Linked DNA regions of Homo sapiens: region 1 is linked to region 2. Evidence: promoter capture Hi-C in human tissues and cell types (Jung and others, 2019). All regions are on one chromosome and are shown on one strand. The core of a region is centred on a gene start or on the middle of the fragment in contact, and the rest is flanking DNA. Distances in the headings are between cores, read along the strand shown.

Region 1 (2,965 bases), core at 67-2,566, 450 kb before region 2:
TAATATACACACATACATATGTGGGTATCTATTTGATATATATAATGGATATATGTATATATTTTATGTATAAATGGATATGGACACATGTGAATTTATATGTATGTACAGATATACCTTATATACATCTGAATTATGTTTGTATTTAAATGTATGTTTGTATTTACATATATATACATGTTGTATATATTTATAATTTCATAGTCTTTTTTTTTTTTTTTTGAGATAGAGTCTCGCTCTGTCACCCAGGCTGGAGTGCAATGGCACTATCTCGGCTCACTGCAACCTCCGCCTCCCAGGTTCAAGCGATTCTCCTGTCTCAGACTACTGAGTAGCTGAGACTACAGGCGCATGCCACCACGCCCAGCTACTTTTTGTGTTTTTAGTAGAGATGGGGTTTCACCATGTTGATCAGGCTGGTCTCGAACTCCTGACCTCAGGATCCGCCCGCCTCGGCCTCCCAAAGTGCTGGGATTACAGGCGTGAGCCACTGCACCTGGCCACTTTCATAGTCATTTTAAAGCTGGAAAGTGTCGTGGTAATCTTTTACCTATTGTAGTTTCATTTTTTAAATGAGGAAACTGGCTTAGATATGTAAGTGATTTACTGAAATCTTCAAAACCAAGTCTTCCCAGTGTTTTGTTAAACTAAAATCTTAGACATGTGAGCAACTTGGACGTTCAGAGCTACATTTAAAATCCTTAATTCTGGCTCTAGGTAAATAGCTTAAAGTTTTGATTTGAGTCCTAAGAGATTTTTTCAACTGGTATTGTATTGGAATCAGGGAGGGGCTGGCTCACCTGATGCTTCTGAAAGCAAAGCAGTAATTTAACATATTATAAGTTGGCACAAAAGTAATTGTGGTTTTTGCCATTACTTTTAATGGAATGTATTAATTATTAAATATATAAATAATATAGAATTAATATATTAATATTAATATATTAAATATACAGTTAATATTAAGTATTATATAGTTAATATTTAATATATAATATATTTAATGTTAAACATACTATACATAATATATATTTAATATATTAAATAGATAATATATATTTTATATATATATAAATATATTCCATTAAAAGTCATGGTAAAAACTGCAATTACTTTTGCACCAACATAATACTTTGTTTATAGTGACGGTATTTAACTTATTTTGAATAAATATTAAAGATGATGTGAGCTTTTATTTATCCTAAGTGATTACAACGAATGGATCTTGTTTTTATATGACTTTGAAAGATAACTAATAACTATTTTAATAAAAAATAGTATTGCATATGAGAATCTAAATTAAAGTAAGACAACTAAGCTTCTTGTCAGCAAAGTTAATTCCTAAATATGAAAGCCTTAGGTTCTATTTGTTTTTTCTGTTGTATACTAAATGTCCGTGTTACCATAACTATATAGAAATAGTTTGAAAAACTATATTTTATATTATGAAAATTATATTGCATCATTTAAATACTAATTTTCATATGTACATATTTTCTTAAATTATCTCAATGGATACCACTATAATAATGCTGTGATGAATATTTTCATGAATATATCCTTTAGAAAAATTTTTTCAGATGTATTTGTAGAAGTAGGATTTCTCTGTCAAAAAAGCATCAACATTTTTAGATTATTATTACTCAATTGTGTACATATTTCTTAATGTGGATATAAATATATATGTTTGTGTGTAATATACACATACAAATGTGGATGTCTGTTATAGATATAATATCTATTATATCTGCTTAATTTATTGTTTTATTGCTTTCTAAAAAGATTATTCTACCACCTTATAGAGATACTAGCAGTGTGTGAAGAGCTGACTGATTTCTCAATAACCTCATCAACTTTAGTACTTTAGTTAATATTGTCTCCCCTGAGTTTCACAAGTGAAATGATGATTATAGTTCATTGTTTCAGTTTGTACTTTGTTGATGACTAATGAGGTTTTAGCTATTTAAAGATGTAGAATTTTCTGTTAGAAAAAAAATTCAACTCTAAGATAGTAAAATATATTTTGTCATTAGGGAATGTGAGAATAAAGGAATAGTTGGTTGATTACTAAAGAAAATGTCATATAATTAATGAGAAATATAACTTAAAATATCAGATAATTGATATAAAGAACTGCTCTCAGTCTTGTCAAGAAGCCAGGCACATAAACAATTTTACTTTGAATAAGACTTTTAAAAATTTTACAAAGTTTTATAAAAAGTAGTACATTGAGGCCAGAAATGGTGGCTCATGCCTGTAGTCCCAGCACTTTGGAAGGCTTGGGGGAAGGATCGCTGGAGCCCAGGACTTCCAGGTTGCAGTGAGCAATGATTGTACCACTACACTCCAGCCTGGGATACAGAGGGAGACCCCATCTCTAAAATAAATAAATAAATGAAATAAAAAATTAATATATTGCATTTCATCCATTGTGCCACCATGTTAGAAATAATATTCTTCAAATTTATGCTTATAGAAATGGGACGTCGGTCATCAGATACTGAAGAAGAAAGCAGAAGCAAGAGAAAAAAGAAACACCGTAGACGGTCCTCCTCGAGCAGTTCTTCAGATAGTAGAACATACAGCCGAAAGAAAGGAGGAAGGAAATCAAGATCAAAGTCAAGATCTTGGTCCAGAGATCTTCAGCCTCGTTCACATTCTTATGATAGAAGGTGATTTTTGTAATTTTTATTTATATAGTAATGAGGATAACATTCTTTAAAATTCATGTTTTTGTATTTTTAATTTTGCTAGATAAAACATTTTTCTTTTACTAGCTATATATTTATGAAAGTCCCAACCCAGAGTTTTTTTGTTCCACCAGGTCCAGTCCGTGGGTCTAGTGTCCTCAACCTTTGTCTGTTCTTAGTAGGCAAATAGATAGAAAGTGGTGTAGTTTCCTTTTTTAATTTAATTTAATTTTTTTTCTAGTGCATTTATTTATTTATTTTTCTAATGAATTATT
Region 2 (3,031 bases), core at 526-3,025:
TTTTTTTTGCATTTGTCATTAGATCCAAACTGCTTTCACAAGGTTCAGCTAATTCCCTGACTAACCTGTGCCTGGACTAAAGCTTTTATAACAATGTGATTCTAAAAAAGTTCCCACAGAAACTAGAGGGTAACATTACAAATTTACTTGGCCTTAATCCAGAACTATTTTAACACCATCTTTTATCACATAACTTACTCCATTTCAAGTTTTTTTTTAAGTGTGGCCTCCTTCACATCTTGTGCTTATACTATTTTAAAGAGAAAAACAATTTAAGGTCTTATAAAACAATTTTGTTTGCCTTGAAATTTATTTAGAAATTTTCGAAATTTTGTGTATATGTTCTCTGAGCTTTATTCTGAGTCCAGAGGAAAAGAAAATATCCTCTTTCCTGGATGGGCTGTGCCATCTCATCTTGGGCTGTGAAGTCTGCCCTACCCCATGCCACCAGTCTCAGGGGAAGGAAGCTGCCAGAGAACTTGGCTAAAAAAGGGGGATGGGGAGTAAAAGATCCAAACGATTAAATTTCCAGCTCTCAAAATAACCCCTGACTACTCCTGTCACCTCCAAATCAGGGCTTGCACACTTCTTCATGCTGGCAAAGTGCCACCCCTCTGGCCTGATCCCAGGGGGCCCTGATGAGCTATGGACGCCCCTTTATCTCTGCAAGACAGCCACGTAGAGAAGCTGGGGAGCTCACTGAATTAAGGGTGGACATGCAAGATGTATTTTCTCTTTTCTTATACTCTTACCATTCTTCTCCTTAATCTCTCTTCTGTCTTCCCCTCCATCTGTCTCCAGGCTCCTGAAAGGCCCCGTGATAGTGTTTTCTAAAACTTAGTAATTTGAGTACCACTATCACGATGTTCCTCTCCCCTGCTCTGCCTACCCCTCCGCCCCACCATATCCAAATTCCACCTGTTCTATTTGATAGCTTACTTTTTCACTTAAAAATGCAAAATCTAGCTCTTGATGTATATCACTGATTTAAATTTAAAATCAGTTTCCTTGCCATAAATAGAAAGCTCCCTGATAAATGTAATGCAAATAAAAACATATAGTAGTGGAATTTTAGTTGGATATGGCTGCTTGCTGCAGGCCTGTGCCTGAAACCTGCTGTTAGGTTAAGAAATGCTGGAGAAGTGTTAAAAACATATCAGCATCGCAGTGAGACTTGATCTTTGAAAGAGAGACACAGAAGGACAACCGAAAAGAGAGCAGCTTTCTCAAGAGGTAAATAAGTTTGTTGAAATCTGATAGGCTTCATCCCATTTCCTTCAACAACTGAGTACACTATTTGCTAACTGTACTAAAAAACGTTTTGCACATTTTTTCTTATTATTTGCTCACAGCTTTTGACTACCAGAGAATGTTTCGGATACAGGACTAATTCCTGTGGATGACAGAATGCGACCGTTGAATGGGACATTGGGTGTCATCTGGTCCAAATCTTGACCCCTTTTCATTTTCCCCGAAAGAAAGACTTGCGGCTCGGAACCGAGGGCGGCATGCCCAAGGTCACAGAAAGGGTGGTCTAATGTTTTGGTTCCTGCAGCCCAGAGAACAAGCTATCCCATCCCACAGGAGCCTTGGCGAAAAGCTCCCCGGCCGGCGCAAGGCCAGACTTCTCGCCTCCACTGTGTTGATTGCGGTTGCCAGGGCAGCGGCGCATTGCTCCCCGCCTCGTCCTGGTGACGTCACAGAGCAATGTCCAATGGGAAAGCAGCTCGGTGTCACGCACCTCCTATCCCGGCGGGCACCGCCTGCGCCGCGGCGAGTGAGGCGTCGTCCGTACTGGAGGCTAGCTCTTGTCGCGGCCGCGGCGAGTTAACATCGTTTTTCCAATCTGTCCGCGGCTGCCGCCACCCAAGACAGAGCCAGAATGTTCAGGATGCTGAACAGCAGTTTTGAGGATGACCCCTTCTTCTCGTGAGTTACGGGAGCCAGGAGTCCGGGGTCGCGCGGGAATTAAGGTATCGAGGGGAGCTATTTTAAGGGAAAAGAGCGAGTTTTAGAGGGCGAGAGAGAATTCGGAGTAACTCTGGAGGCGGTTTGAAGGAGACGAGGATTTGGAGGCCTGGGAGGGAAGAGAGAGGAGGATTTAGGGGTGTGTGAGACAGGGAAGAGACGGATTTGGGCGCATGAGGTGGAGAGAGGAGGGTTTGGACGCGTGAGGTAGGCGGAGGGAAGTTTGGGGGCGTGAGGTGTGGGGAGGAGAGTTAAGGCTGGGAGTGGGGGGAGAAGAGTTGAGGCCGGGAGGTGGGGGGAGGAGAATTGAGGGCATGAGGTGGGGAGAAGAGGTTGAGGGCGTGAGGTGAGGGAAGGGTTTGGGAGCATGAGGTGGGAGGGAGGAGGGTTGAGGGCGTGAGGTGAGGGGAAGGGTTGAGGGTGTGAGGTGAGGGGAAGGGTTGAGGGCGTGAGGTGAGGGGAAGGGTTGAGGGCGTGAGGTGAGGGGAAGGGTTGAGGGCGTGAGGTGGGGGAAGGGTTTGAAAGCGTGAGGTGGGGGGAGGAGGGTTGAGGCTGTGAGGTGGGGGGAGGGTTTGGGAGCGTGGGGTGGGAGGAGGAGGGTTTGGGGGAGTAAGGTGGAGGGGGGAGGGTTGAGGGTGTGAGATGGACGAAGGAGGATTTGGGGGTGTGAGGCGTTTGGAGGAGGGTTGAGGGCGTGAGGTGGGGGGAGGGTTTGGGAGCATGAGGTGTGGGGGAGAGTTGAAGGTGTGAGGTGTAGGAGGAGGGTTGAGGACGTGAGGTGGGAGGAGGATTTGGGAGCATGAGGTGTGGGGGAGGGTTGAGGGTGTGAGGTGAGGGGAAGGAGGGTTTTGGACCGCGAGGTGGGGGGAGGAGGGTTGAGGGCGTGAGGTGGGGGGACGGTTTGGGAGCATGAGGTGCAGGGGAGAGTTAAGAGCTTGAAGTGCAGGGACGAGGGTTGAGGGCGTGAGTTGGTGGGGAGGGTTTGGGAGTATGAAGTGCAGGGGAGGATTGAGGGCATGAGTTGGTGGGGATGGTTTGGGAGCGTGAGGTGGCGGTAAGAGGG

What was found. The method cuts DNA at HindIII sites, captures the fragments that hold promoters and counts their contacts. A contact is called where the count stands out against the background at its distance.
Region 1: a contact is called between a fragment that was not itself captured here and the fragment with the promoter of MLF1 in region 2, in 1 of the 25 tissues and cell types used here (heart left ventricle).

What each region holds. Positions count from the first base shown.
Region 1 is chr3:158,119,627-158,122,591 of GRCh38, forward strand. RSRC1 (arginine and serine rich coiled-coil 1) reads left to right here. Exons shown (of 10, transcript NM_001271838.2): 2 at 2,477-2,672. The coding sequence starts at 2,479. Among named protein-coding and RNA genes, the nearest start is that of RSRC1, 11 kb to the left of the region's middle. The HindIII fragment of the contact is 8,881 bases long and covers 1-2,965 here.
Region 2 is chr3:158,569,419-158,572,449 of GRCh38, forward strand. MLF1 (myeloid leukemia factor 1) reads left to right here and starts at 1,776. Exons shown (of 8, transcript NM_001369783.1): 1 at 1,776-1,929. The coding sequence starts at 1,883. It overlaps MLF1-DT (MLF1 divergent transcript), which reads right to left and starts at 1,648. Exons shown (of 5, transcript NR_104147.1): 1 at 753-1,648. The HindIII fragment of the contact is 8,231 bases long and covers 1-3,031 here.